Regions from separate parts of the Homo sapiens genome. Here region 1 is linked to region 2. Evidence: promoter capture Hi-C in human tissues and cell types (Jung and others, 2019). All regions are on one chromosome and are shown on one strand. The core of a region is centred on a gene start or on the middle of the fragment in contact, and the rest is flanking DNA. Distances in the headings are between cores, read along the strand shown.

The links. Contacts are between HindIII fragments. The study calls those that stand out against the background at their distance.
Region 1: a contact is called between a fragment that was not itself captured here and the fragment with the promoter of EGFL7 in region 2, in 1 of the 25 tissues and cell types used here (dorsolateral prefrontal cortex).

What each region holds. Positions count from the first base shown.
Region 1 is chr9:136,446,081-136,452,983 of GRCh38, forward strand. It overlaps SEC16A (SEC16 homolog A, endoplasmic reticulum export factor), which reads right to left. Exons shown (of 32, transcript NM_014866.2): 23 at 5,176-5,328; 24 at 2,004-2,081; 25 at 1,773-1,829; 26 at 1,489-1,600; 27 at 1,147-1,284; 28 at 775-869. Among named protein-coding and RNA genes, the nearest start is that of INPP5E, 9.7 kb to the left of the region's middle. RefSeq lists an enhancer at 1,567-2,766. The HindIII fragment of the contact is 4,836 bases long and covers 577-5,412 here.
Region 2 is chr9:136,659,319-136,666,566 of GRCh38, forward strand. EGFL7 (EGF like domain multiple 7) reads left to right here and starts at 3,598. Exons shown (of 11, transcript NM_016215.5): 1 at 3,598-3,790; 2 at 4,090-4,305; 3 at 5,374-5,467. LNCEGFL7OS (lncRNA EGFL7 opposite strand) reads right to left here and starts at 1,103. Exons shown (of 2, transcript NR_135132.1): 1 at 1,003-1,103. The HindIII fragment of the contact is 17,984 bases long and covers 1-7,248 here.

The DNA.
Region 1 (6,903 bases), core at 1,745-4,244, 210 kb before region 2:
CGTACAGAGTGCAGTCTGAGCTGGTTTTTTTTTTTTTTTTTTTGAGATGGAGTCTGGCTCTGTTGCCCGGGATGGAGTGCAATGGCGCAATCTCAGCTCACTGCAACCTCTGCCTCCTGGGTCCAAGCGATTCTTCTGCCTCAGCCTTCTGAGTAGCTGGGATTACAGGCACCCGCCACCACACCCAGGTAAATTTTGTTTTTTTTTTAGTAGAGATGGGGTTTCACCATGTTGGCCAGGCTGGTCTCGAACTCCTGACCTCAGGTGACCCGCCCAGCTCAGCCTCCCAAAGAGCTGGGATTACAGGCATCATCCACCACTCCCGACTGGTCTGAGCTGTTCTACTTCACATGGGAGTCATTTGTTTTTTGTTTTTTTTTTTTGGATGAAAATATACTTAACTTTTATTATCGGTAGGTAATTTCTCTGTAACTTAGAGTAATTAATTTTACTTTTTCCAATTTTAAAAATTGTAAAATATACATACTGTAAAATTTGCCACTTTAATCATTTTTAAGTTTTAAGCACATTCACCGTGCTGAGCAACCATCACCGCCACTATCCCCAGATCTCCGTCTTCCCAAACAGCTCTGTCCCGCCCGGCACCCTGCATTCTACCTTCCGTCTCTACCATACATAAGTGTGAGGCGTTTAAGGCGGAACACTCTACGTACACATTGGATACTGACTTGCAGAAGGCAAGGCCCTGTCTGGCAGGATGGGGAGGTGCCTCCTCACTGGGTACCTTTCCCCTTTCCCACCGTACCCGCTCACCTTGGGCTCTGGGGCAGGCTCTGGATTGGCCAGGCCCCTAGCTGCTGCAGGCCCTTCCCTGCCAGTCCCGTCTGGAAGCTGTGGTTCTTCTGCATCTGGGGATGAGAGAGCGAGGAGGCCATCATTCCGTCCCGAACGTCCCTGGGGTCTCACTGAAGACACTCCGAGAGGAAGAGAGTTTCACACTGCACACGCGGCACACTCATGCAGAAACAGGCAAATCAAAAAAAAAACCACAAACCAACCCCAGGCTCTCTGCATGCTGGCCAGGTCATTCTTTTAACGGGAGATTTAGGAGAGACTCATAGAAAGAGGATCAAAGGTCAGGAGACTGGGGGCTGACCTGGAGGGGCTGGTGCTCGTGCTACCTACCTGGGGTTGGCACGAACAAGTTAGAAGGAATTGGGAGTGGCGCGAGTGGAGCGACAAAGTCCGCAGGAGCGAGAGCCGGCTCGCTCCGCTGGGTCCCGCTTGGGTTCAGGACGTCAACGTAGCGAGCTCTGGTTCCTGCTGCAAAGGGGAGGGAAGCAAATTGAGGTGAACGCGCCAGGTGGCCTCCAGCTTCCAAATGCTCTGCGCTCACTGCGTCAGAGGAAAAGCACGCAGGGACGTGCGGGAAGCCACCTCCTCCCCACGCACAACAGCTACACATTGGCCTCTCTCTCTGGGACAGTTAATCGTTCAAGCAAGCTCCCACTCCAAGGCCACCCTTACCTGCTCTTCTAGAGTACATGTTCACGGGGGCTCCAGGAGGCCCTGGGAGGGCAGGCGGGGCAGCTTGCACAGTCTTGGGCATCGAGGTTGGAGGTGGGGGCGGGGCTTTCTTCTGCAGAGGGAAACACAGCTTCAGACACCCACTGTGTGCACAGAAACCCACTGGGATGGCACAGTCAGGAGGCTCCAAAAGGGGCAACAGCCACCCAAATATCACAGGGCCACATGAGGCTGTTCCCTCCACTCACACCTCACACCCAACAGGAACTAGAATGACAATTTACCTCCTCTTCTGGCTCATTTAAATTCACCCACTGGTTTTTCTTTTCATCCCAAACAATCTGCCAAGATTTTAAAAAGAAAAAAGGTCAGCAGACTGAACCTAAACAGAATTAGCATCTGATTAATGATGACACTTCAAAACTTCAGGAAACACCTACTCAGGTCTGCTCTGAAAGTGACAGAAAAATCATTACAATTCTTCGGACGTCCCGTGCGTATTTGACAGCACTCACCGATTTGTTCTTGTCATCTGGCAAATAAGCTTCTGTCTTTTTCTTTCCAGGTAGCCAACGAAAGAACCAGGATTCACCCTAAATATAAAAAACACGAGAACAACTTTGAAAACATTATGTTCCATGAAATAAGCCAGGGCAAAAAGACAAATTCTACATGACCCACTTCTGTGAGGCCCCAGAGTCGCCAGATCCACAGAGACACCAGGAGAATGGAGGTGGGAGCAGATCCACAGAGACACCAGGAGGATGGAGGTGGGGAGCAGATCCACAGAGACACCAGGAGGATGGAGGTGGGGGGCGATCCACAGAGACACCAGGAGGATGGAGGTGGGGGGCGATCCACAGAGACACCAGGAGGATGGAGGTGGGAGCAGATCCACAGAGACACCAGGAGGATGGAGGTGGGGGGCAGATCCACAGAGACACCAGGAGGATGGAGGTGGGAGCAGATCCACAGAGACGCCAGGAGGATGGAGGTGGGGAGCAGATCCATAGAGACACCAGGATGGAGGTGGGGAGCAGATCCAGACACACCAGGAGGATGGAGGTGGGGAGCAGATCCACAGAGACACCAGGAGGATGGAGGTGGGGAGCAGATCCAGAGACACCAGGAGAATGGAGGTCGGGGGCAGATCCACAGAGACACCAGGAGGATGGAGGTGGGGGGCAGATCCACAGAGACACCAGGAGGATGGAGGTGGGGAGCAGATCCACAGAGACACCAGGAGGATGGAGGTGGGAAGCAGATCCAGAGACACCAGGAGGATGGAGGTGGGAGGGAACCGGGAGTTGTTTCGTTTCAAGGAGACAGAGTTTCTGTTTGGGAAGGTGAGACAGTTCTGGAGATGGATGGTGGTGATGGCAACACAACAGTGTGAATGTACTTGGTGCCACAGAACTGTGCACTCAGAAAATGGTAAAAATGTGCATTTTGTTCTGTGTATTTTACTGTCATTTAAATAGGTCAGAACAGTAACGTGCCTTCAGGAACTTTTTACGTCTAAACACTGACAAAGCTTCCGACGTCCTCCCCTTTGAGAAGTGGAAGGCGGGCTGTCCAAGTCAGTGTGTGTCGGAGGCAGATACAGCCCTCTGTGTTTCCCATGTGTGGAGAATTCGGTTATTAGGAAACTTTACTTTATTCTTCACATGATGCACTTCATTTTGGTTTGTTAGTTTTCTGAGACAGAGTCTCGCTCTGTCCCCCAGGCTGGAGTGCAATGGCGCGATCTCGGCGCACTGCAACCTCTGCCTCCCGGGTTCAAGTAGTTCTATGCCTCAACCTCCTGAGTAGCTGGGATTACAGGCACCCACCACCATGCATGGCTAATTTTTGTATTTTTAGTAGAGATGGGGTTTCACCATCTTGGCCACGCTGATCGTGAACTCCTGACCTCATGATCTGCTCGCCTCAGCATCCCAGAGTGCTGGGGTGACAGGCGTGAGCCGCCGCACCCTGACTCCCAGAATGCTGGGGTGACAGGCAGGAGCTGCTGCGCCCGGCCTCCCAGAGTGCTGGGGTGACAGGTGTGAGCCGCCATGCCCGGCCTGATGCACTTCACTTCTACTGAAGAAAGAGGAGAAGCCTCAGCAGCTACTACACACCCTCAATTCTGTTTCTCTGTGAGTTCTACTGGCCAGACAAGCTGTCCCGGGGAGGCCTGTGATAGCCTATGCACTGGAAACCTGCTCAAGTATCATGTTTTATCTCAGAGCTCACACAAATTTGGAATTAAATGTGTGTTTATTTTCAAGACAGCAGCCATAAAAGAAAAATCTGATCACTGAACTTTATTAAAATGAAGAATGATATTTTTCATAAAATACCATTACTAGGCCGGGCATGGTGGCTCACACCTGTAATCCCAGTACTTTGGGAGGCCAAGGCAGGCAGATCACTTGAGGTCAGGAGTTTGAGACCAGCCTGGCCAACATGGTGAAACCCCATCTCTACTAAAAATACAAAAAATTAGCTGGGAGTGGGGTGGGCACCTGTAATCCCAGCTACTGGAGAGGCTGAGGCAGGAGAATTGCTTGAACCTGGGAGGCGGAGGTTGCAGTGAGCCAAGATCATGCCAATGCACTCCAGCCTGGCTGACAGAGTGAGACCCTGTCTCAAAACAAACAAACAAACAAACAAACAAAAAACCATTACAAGTAAAAAGGCAATCTACAGATTGGGAGAAGATATCACAATAAATACACCTAACAGAGGACTTATATCCATAATACAGAAAGGACTCCTGCAAGTCCTGAAGAGAACACCATTAAAAATGGAAAGGAAAGCCAGGTGTGGTGGCTACACCTGCAGTCCCAGCTACGAGGCAGGAGGATCACTTGGGCCCAGGAGTTTGAGACCAGCCTGGGCAATAGTGAGACCCCATCTTTATGGGGGAAAAAAAAAACAACGGATAGAGACTTGAACAAGCACTGCCCCAAAAGAGTGGTGAGATGGTAACAGGGACACGAGAAGGTGCCCAGCGTCACACCTCGCTGTGGAGATGCAGAGGAAGACACAATGAGATGTCATCAGCCCCAGCACAATGGCTAAGTTAAAGAACCGGCACTGCCCAGTATTGGTGAAGATGAGGGATATCCAGGGCCCTTGTCCTCTGCTGCAGGATGTGTGACTTGGGGCAACCAACCATTTAGGACAACTGCTCAGCAGTGTCTCCTAAAGCTGAACACACGCTCATCCTGCGAGCTAAACCCTCAGCTCCTTGGCACGCACCTAAGAAAAACAAGCGCATTCGCCAATAGATAGGCAAGGAGGCTCCTGGGGCCTGACGGATCCCAGCCCCACACTGAAAGCAGTCCCAAAGTCCACGGCTGGGAGAAAGGATCTGTGAGCCGGCAGCAGGCACACACCACAGTGACAAAGCAGCGGCTGCCGTCTGGTCCCTTGCGGGTGGGTCTGACAGGTAGTGGCCAGAGGCGACCTCTGGGGGCCGGGCTGTGTCCCCATGCTGACCTGGGTGGGCTATTATCCTATTATCTGAAGGCACAAATACACAGACACCCATCATGCCGTGTGCACTGTAGACACTCGGCTGTTTGTATCAGGAGGCTATTTGCATGTGTGGTGAATTAAGAGGATGGCGCTCTGGGAAGCGTGCCTCCTGCCCAAACCCTCCCGGCCGCCAGGCGCACCGTGGGCAGGCTGTACTACCTTCTTAGGTTCCTTCGTTTCTTTCTTGGCTGCCTGTCCGGGTCTCTTTGTTTCGGGAGCGGGTGAGAGAGACAGAGGTGGCTGCGTGGGACCCGAGTCGGCACGATCCCACCCTGGGGGGGCCTCCGAGTCTGGCACCGTCCTCGAGGGGGTCTGTCGCAAGGAAATGCAGAACAGGCTCTCCTGGGGCTCCTCACAGGAACCGAAAGAGAGAGGGGGATGCAATTCCCCAGGCGTGTTTCCTAAATACATCACTGAGAGGCCGGATGACTCTGGTGACCAGAGGGAGGCAGGAAGGGGGCTGGGGAGAGCAGCCCCCTGACTGGGCCTCCCAGAGCCTCTACCTGGCCTGACTAGAGAAGAGCCAGCCGCACTTAATAAGCAGCTCCGTCTGGGAGCACTCAGCACTCAGAATGCAAATGAGGGCGTTCGATGGAGATTCCGGGCTGGAAGAAACGGAGTGTGAGCATGCACTGAGGGAAGACTGGCCAGAGGGGGGCGATGGGTGTTCTCAAAGATACAATGATTTTTAAAAATATTTATTCCTGGGTCAAGTCCCAATTTTTAATAGCTCAACCCTCATTTTTACTTTTCCAGGGACACAGTATTTTAAAGGGTAAAACACCTAATGCAAGTTCAAACTATAGCAATCGCCTACTGATGGGATGCCCGTGAAGGGCTGGGTATCTGTAAAGAAGGTTCCAGAATGCGGTCTGTATAAAAGCAACCATCCCTCCTGGTTAGGAGTAGAGCAAACAGAGGAGGTATTTATACCAAACATGTCTAATGAGATAAATCTCACTTTCAGGAAAACCAGTGACAATGTTAGAAATTCTACTGAATTCCAGGACATCCTCTTGTGAGATCAAAAAATTAGAAAAGAAATTCTACTGTAGAAAAAGAGACGGCCGGGCTGGGCGGGGTGGCTCATGCCTGTAATCCCAGCACTTTGGGAGGCTGAGGCAGGTGGATCATGAGGTCAGGAGTTCAAGATCAGCCTGGCCAAGATGGTGAAACCCCATCTCTACTAAAAATACAAAAAAAAATGAGCTGGGTGTGGTGGTGGGCGCCTGTAGTCCCAGCTACTCAGGAGGCTGAGGCAGAGAATTGCTTAAACCTGGGAGGCAGAGGATGCAGTGAGCCAAGATCGCACCACTGCACTCCAGGCTGGGCGACAGAGAGAAACTCCATCTCAAAAAAAAAAAAAAAAAAAAAAAAAAAAAGAGATGGCCAGGTGCAGTGGTTCACACCTTAATCCCAGCACTTTGGGAGGCTGAGGCAGGCAGATCACTTGAGGTCAGGAGTTCGAGACTAGCCTGGCCAACATGGCGAAACCCTGTCTCTACCAAAAAATACAAAAAATTAGCCAGGCATGGTGGCACATGCCTGTAGTCCCAGCTACTTGGGAGGCTGAGGCTGGAGAATCACTTGAACCTGGGAGGCGGAGGTTGCAGTGGCCAAGATGGCGCCACTGCATTCCAGCCTAGGCGACAGAGCGAAACTATGTCTTAGGGAAAAAAAAAAAAAAAAAAAAAGGCCAGGCTTGGTGGATCACACCTGTAATCCCAGCACTTTGGGAGGCTGAGGCGGGTAGATCATGAGGTCAGGAGTTTAAGACCAGCCTGGCCAACATGGTGAAACCCCATCTCTACTAAAAATACAAAAACTAGCCGGGCATGGTGGCACACACCTGTAGTCCCAGCTACTTGTGAGGCTGAGGCACAGAAC
Region 2 (7,248 bases), core at 2,348-4,847:
GCTGACAGAGCCAGCCCGTCCGAGGCCGGGGGGCGCTCGGGGTAAACAGGAAGCCCCATCCCTCCCGCACTCTGCTTCACTCCCTCCTCCTGCACCTCCTGCAGCCCGGCTCCCGCGGCCGCGCCTGGTGCCCCTCTGTCTCGCGCCACCTGAGATGCCCAGGCTGGCCTCTGCCAGGGGCTTAGTCTGCCCTCTCCTGGGGCTTCAGAGGCCAAAAGCACCCTGGTGAGGGGTCCGGGAGGCCCGGGAGGGCCCGGGGGGCTCTGCCAGGCCCCTCCACGCCTCTCTGCCCAGCCAGCACGCTCTGGGAAGGTAAGGCAGCCCTTCCCCTTATAACTAACCTCAGAACATTCCCAGGTGGCTGGAAGGCCACTGGACAACATGGCCCTGCTGACAAGAGAGACAATGGGGAAACTGAGGCCTGTGTGGGGCACAAAGCTGGGACCAGAGCTCCAGCTTCCTGCCCCTGCCGGGCCTCCACCTCTGACACCACCCCAGGCAGGGTGAAGCCCTGGGCTCCAGACCTTCCAGTGCCCAGATGAGGACAGGCGCAGGCCTTGGGGTGGCCACACTCTCCCACCAGGTCTCCCCCTCTGTGCTGGGCCCCTGAGGTGAGGGGAGGAGGCCAGGCGTGGGGCCCGGCCTGGCTTCTGTGGGGCTGGAGCCTGGGCAGGAGGCACTGCTGACTCCCAAAATGATTCCCTGCTGAAGGTCTGTGCCATGATCCCAAACACACACCACCAGAGCGGCCAGGGCAGGGAAGGGGGCACCTCCAAGGACCGGAGGGTGAGGGAGGGGCCCGCCTGCCCCTTGCTGAGCCCCTGGGCCTTGGGCACAGAGTGTGCTCCACCCATACCAGAACCCGGGGGCAGCCCCAACCCCCTGGACCCCCAGTACCCTCTGGCGTCCAAGAACCCATGTCTGTCCCCTGCCAACCCCCCGCCCCTCCTGTCCCCGCTGGGCCCCCGACATTAGGGCAAGGCCGCAGCCCACCTCCTGTACCTGCCTCTGAGGCTCCAGGAGCCCAAGAGAGTGGAGTGCCCCTCCTGTGGTGGCTCCAGGCTATGGGATAGGGCAAAGCTGGCACTCTGGGCCTGAGCCCAGGCCTCCTTCCCTTGGGGAGGGTCTAGTCTTGGCCTGGGGAGGGGCTGGGGGCAGGGCAGAGCTTATCAGGAGGGGGTTGCAGTGAAGAACAAGTTGGCAGCAGGCGGTGCCCAGCCCCCCAGGCTGTCACCCAGGAGTCCAGTGCCAGGAGGACAGCCTGGGGAGGACGCAGACTCTGCCCTCGCCCCTTGCCTGTAAGCACAGCAGTCAGTTCACCGGGAAGGCCCCCAGCGGGCCAAGCCTTAGCAACTCGTGCACTCGGCTACTTAGCTATTCCTGCCCCGAGCTGTCCCCTGGCCGGATAGGTCTGATGACAGGGGCTGCTCCAGGTTGGGACATAGGACAAGCTGGGGTGGGGGACATGGGGCTCCCCAAGAAGAGGAAGGAAGGGTGAGGCAGCCTCCTGTGCCGAGCATCCCAGCCCTGTCCGGCCTCCAGGCTCACCTGGGCCGGTCACTTCTCCCTCTGGGCCTCAGTTTCCCCCTCTGTACACAGAAAGGGCTGGATCTAGCCCACCCCATGCTTGTGGGTCCTTCCACCAGGAGGCCAGGGCAGATCCAGGGGCATGCAGGTGGGGGAGGAGGGGGCAGGCCGCAGGGATGCAGGCAGAGGGCAAGAGGGCACCTCCTGGGATGGGGGCACAAGCCTACTGGGCCCCTATACGGTGGAGTAGCTAAGTAGCCGAGTGCACGAGTTGCTAAGGCTTGGCCCGCTGGGGGCCTTCCCGGTGAACTGACTGCTGTGCTTACAGCCAGGGGCGAGGGCAGAGTCTGGGTCCTCCCCAGGCTGTCCTCCTGGCACTGGACTCCTGGGTGACAGCCTGGGGGACTGGGCCCGGCCTGCTGCCAACTTGTTCTTCACTGCAACCCCCTCCTGACAGCTGGAGGGACAGGCTGGCCAGGGCAGGATGAGCCCCTGGGTGGGAGAGCCAGGGGGCCGAGGGAGGCACAGGGCGGCTGAGGGTGCAGCCAGTAGGGTAAGGGCCAGATCCCAGGGTGGCCTAGTGTGGAGGAGGTGGGGAAATGGGGTTCTGCCTATCTGCTCCAACCTCAGGGCAGGGGCCACCTCTGGAAAGAGGCCCCTCCCGCTCAGACCAGCGGTGCCTGGGTGCCAGGAGCGCCCCCTTAAACCAGCTCAGTGACCATGAAGCAGGTGCAGAAACAGGCCCGGAGAAGAGTGAGGTCCTGCCTGGCTGAGGCCCTGAGCCCTGACCACAGCCTGGCGCCCAGAGCAGACCCTTCCCCTGGCCGTGGGTAGAGGGGAGCTGGTTCCTGCTTGAGGGGGAGGCGCATCGCGTGTGGGTGAGGTTTCCACCTGCCCTCCAAAGTCCCGTGGGGAATTTCCCCAGCTGCCCCAGCCTCCCTTGGCTCAAGTTGCCCAGCTGAGTGGGGCTGGAGAGGTGGGGGCACACTGACCGCCCAGGGCCAGGGAAATGGGGGTGTCCCAGGCATCAGGCCGACAGGGGCTGACCCCAAAGCAGGGCTCACACCCCACGGACAGCGGGGTTGGGAGAGGCCCTGCTCTCCTGGGGTTCCAGGCGTGCCCTCCAAAGCCACCCAGCTCCCTTCGGCACCGTGTCCCCTCCCACCCAGCCCACCTTTGCCACAGTGGCTCGCTCGGCCTGAGGCTCCCACTGCCGTGTGAACAGGGAAGATGAGGGTCAGACCTGGAGGCTGGGACGCCGGGAATCTGACAGAGCACCCCCTGTGATCACCCACAGTGTCCCGCATCCCTCCCCACACCCCCGGCCGCAGCCTGCTGCCAGCCCAGAGCACCCCTGTGAAGTGGGGCTGAGGGCATTGGGCCTGCTTGCCCATCTCCAGGGCAGGGGCTCACAGCCTCACTGGCAGCTCTTTTAGGGGAGAGAGCTTGGACTCCATGCTTGTCCCCTCCCGTCACCCCCTCACCATGGGCCTCAGGGACCCACGGAACAGGCTGTTCTCGGACCGCTCAGCCTGTCTTGCCACCCCAGTCCCTTCCTGCCGGGCCTCGCCACTCGCCATCCCTCACTGGTCAAGGCTCCTGTGTGGCTGGTCCCTGCCTTGGCCTGGGGCCCCTCCAAGCTCCCGTGCTGTGTCACACACATCTGGGGGTGTCCTGGGGGAGGGCCCAGCATCCTTGGCCCAAAGATGCAGCAGCTCCCTTCTGTCCAGCCACACGTGAGCATGGCCTGTGAACCCACGGTCCTGGGAGGGCCCTGGGCTTGCGTCCTCCACCCCACACTCTCCCCAGGGTCTCCAGCAGGGTCCAGCCCTGGTTTCTGGCTGTTTTGGGGCTAGACTCTGATGGCCCAGGGGACGGCTTCCCCACCCCTGGGCAGTTTGTCCAGGCCCCCTCACACGGTGGCCCCCACCCCCCTCAGCCTCCTGTTTGTCCGACGACACGTCCCCGTTATCAGCGGAGAACACACACAGGAAGTCCGGCTGGGAAGGGCCCATCCCAATCCCGATTACCCAGGACGGAGCATAAAAAGCCGCCCTTCCTCGCCCGGGGGGAGCCTCCCTGCACCAAGCTGGCCCTGCACGGCTGCAAGGGAGGCTCCTGTGGACAGGCCAGGCAGGTGGGCCTCAGGAGGTGCCTCCAGGCGGCCAGTGGGCCTGAGGCCCCAGCAAGGGCTAGGGTCCATCTCCAGTCCCAGGACACAGCAGCGGCCACCATGGCCACGCCTGGGCTCCAGCAGCATCAGGTATGGCAGGGGTGGCCTCGGAGGGGCAGGGAGCGGACAGGGCGGGCCCCCCATTCCCCTCACTCCCGCTGACCGTGGCGCCTGCTGGCTGCTCCGCAATCTGCTCCCCAGCGAGGTCACAGGGGAGGGGTCCCAGTCTCCTCCCCTTCTGCACAGAGGAGGCCACTGAGGCCCCTTGGCCAAACGCCTGCTAGTGGGTGGCCCAGCGTAGATCCCAATCCAGTCTGCTGACTCCAACACTTCACCCCCAGTCGCCCTTCCCCTGAACCCCACCCTCTGGCCTTTCTCTCCCTCCGCAGAGCAGCCCCTGTGGTTGGCAGCAAAGTTCAGCTTGGCTGGGCCCGCTGTGAGGGGCTTCGCGCTACGCCCTGCGGTGTCCCGAGGGCTGAGGTCTCCTCATCTTCTCCCTAGCAGTGGATGAGCAACCCAACGGGGGCCCGGGGAGGGGAACTGGCCCCGAGGGAGAGGAACCCCAAAGCCACATCTGTAGCCAGGATGAGCAGTGTGAATCCAGGGTGCGGGACGTGGGGCTCGGGCTTAGGGATGACTTGCTGGGTGCGGTGGGCAAATGGGTGACTCTGTGGGCCCCCCTTGGACCCTGGAGACGCCCTTGTTCTCCCTCTCCCCAGCCTCATGCAGAGTGGCTGAAGCCCCATCCCAAAGCCCCCAAAACCACAGTGGGTCCTAGAAGGCCCCACTTTTTGTCTCATACGTCCACACCAAGAAGCCTGTCTGAGAACCCCCACTTTCCAAATGGTGCCTAGCCAGGATGGGGGCAGCGAGGGCTGAGTCGGGGCAGCCCTGGAGCTGCCCTTTCTGCTCCATCGCCTCTTCCAGACTCAGGCAGGAGAGGTGGGGAGGCAGGTCAAAGGGTTAAGTGACCGCAGATCCAGAGATGAGGCCAGGGGCAGGGGACAGGGAGGGTGGCGGTGGCTCTCCCACCCAGAGGCCCCCTAGGCCCCACTCTGAACACTTCACTGCTGGGGGCTAGGTAAGAGCTGCCCTGCGTGGGCTCAGGGCGCCAGGAGGCCTAGGACTCCCCAGTCAGATGAGGAACGCCCCCTGACAGCAGCTGCTCTGGTCGTCCCTTGGACCACGTGCCAGGGGCTTCCAGGGCCCCTGGTCCAGAGCAGTGGCCACTGGATTGCAGGGTGGGGCGGCCTCATTTTGGGGACTCCTCTCCAGGGACCTGGGCCCCTCCCTTCCTCCAGCTCCCATGCACCAAGGTAGGACCAAGCTGGTGGCCCTCTCGGACCCATCTGCAGGCCCCTTGCCCAGCACCCTGGGTTACATGGAGAGACCTCCAGCTCCACTCACAGCAGCCTCCCATCCCCATGCCAGGGAGTCCAGGGCTGGAGGCAATAACCCCATTTTACTGAGGCCAGGGGCTGCGGATCCGAGAGGACAATCAGCTCAGGACAGGATGGGGTCGGGGTAGGTGCAGGACAGGGGCCTGTAGGCCTAGTGCAGGCGGAGGTCCCACAGCAGCACCGAAAGCTGGTCCCGGGCCCCTTCCCAGCCCCCAGACATCAGGGTGACCAGGACTGTGCATAGGCACTAACCCACAACTCCTCTCCAACCAGCAGCCCCCAGGACCGGGGAGGCACAGGTGGCCCCCACCACCCGGAGGAGCAGCTCCTGCCCCTGTCCGGGGGATGACTGATTCTCCTCCGCCAGGTGAGTCCCAGCAAACCCCTTGCTCCGAGGGAACACTTCTCACACCGGCGCCCACGCGGGTTATGACACAGGGCGCTGGCTCCGGCTGGGGTCTGAGGGGCTGCTGAATTGGGCTGGCCCGAGCCCCACGTGCCGCGCCCGCAGTAACAGCTGTAACAATTGTTGTGTGGCCACGACCTCACCGTCACTAGATCCCAGGGCTGTTTAGCCCCATCTTATAAATTTGGAAATGGAGGCCTGGAGAAGAGAGGTGACCAGCCCAGGGACCTCTGGTGTGAGGAGACTCTCTGGGGGCCTGTGGATTCGCTGGGAGGAGTGTTCTGCGATGGCCCTGACTGTGCTGAACTCAGCAGTGACCCAGTGACCCCGGTGAGGGTGCCTGATGCCTGAGAGAGGGCCAGGTGGGGGCCGGCGCAGGGGCCCCCAACCTAACACGCTAAGGCTAGGAGGCAGGCCTGGGCTCTGCCATGTGGTCTCAGAGGAGATCTGGGTCTCTGGGCCTGCGGTGGGGACGGTCATGATGCCCACTGCCTGCGAGGCTGCAGGACCCAGCTCAGTGCTAACCTGCGCCGGGCGCCTACCGCGCGGCCCCCCAGCGGCTGAGATGGGCGTCCCGGGGTGGTTTTCAGCCTGGGGGGCTTGAAAGCTAGCAAAGGGCCCGCAGCCCCGTCAGTGTGGGCGCCCTGGGCGGCCTCTCCTGGCTCCTGGCGGCCGGGCTTGGTCGTGCGTCCCCAGCGACCGCGCAGCGAGCGCCCTGCCGCGGGGACTCGGGCCCCAGGATTCCCGGAGGGGGTGCTGGCGGGCCGCGGCTCAGAGGCGCGTTTGCGTCAGCCCCGGGTTCCAGCAGAGTCACTGCCCGCCCGGGGGCAGCTCGTCCGCCGCGGGGCCTCAGTTTCCCCGTCTGCGCAATGGGGGCGGGGCGGGGCCGCCAGGTGGGGCGGGGCCGGGGGCGGGGCGGGGCGGGGCTCGGGGCCCCCACGGCGCGGGCTCGGGCGGCAGTGGCGGCGGCGCGTGCGCGCCCCGGATCCGGCGGTGAGTGCGGAGCGAGCGGGGCGCGCCGGGGTCGGGGTCCGGTCGCCGCCCGGGCTGGGTCGAGGGCGGGACCCGCGGAGCCCCCGGGGGCGGGGAACCTGGCCGCGCGCGGAGCTGGGGGCGGCTCCGGGACGAGGCAGCGCGACCGCTGGGGCCGGGGGCGGAGCGGGCCGGGGCGCCCGCGGCTGGGTCGGGCCGGGCCGGGAGAATGGGCCCAGCGGCCCCGGGAACCGGCTCCCCCTGCCGGCGGCGGGCGGGCGGGCGGCGCGGCGGGGAGGGCCGGGGTCGCCGCGGCCCCTCGTCCGACCCGGCGCGACTCAGCGCCTCGGGGCCCAGCCTGTGCCGCCTGCTCCGCCCCCCGCGAACCCCGGAGCCAGCAGCGCGGCTGGGAGGGGGCGGCGGGCAGGTCCGTCTCGCTCCGCCTCTGCGCCCTCCCTCGTGGGCCCCGCGGTCCCCAGCCCTGCTCCCGCCGCGAGGGGTCCGCCAGTGCCTGCGGCGCAGCCAGGCCCCTCCCTCTGCGGACCCGGCCTCTCGCGGGTGGGGGCTGCGGGGCTGCTGCCGGGCAGGTGGGGAGGGAGCCCGTGGGCGCTGGGGGCACGGGGACCGGACTGCTGGTCCACCTGGCGCCGCCGCCCCCTCCCCGCCCGGCACCCCTGGGTCGAGGCCGTGGCCCCCCCCGGGGAAATGGGGCTTGCAGCACCGGCTCGGAGAGCACCACGGGCTTCCTCTGGCCTCGGGAAAACATGACT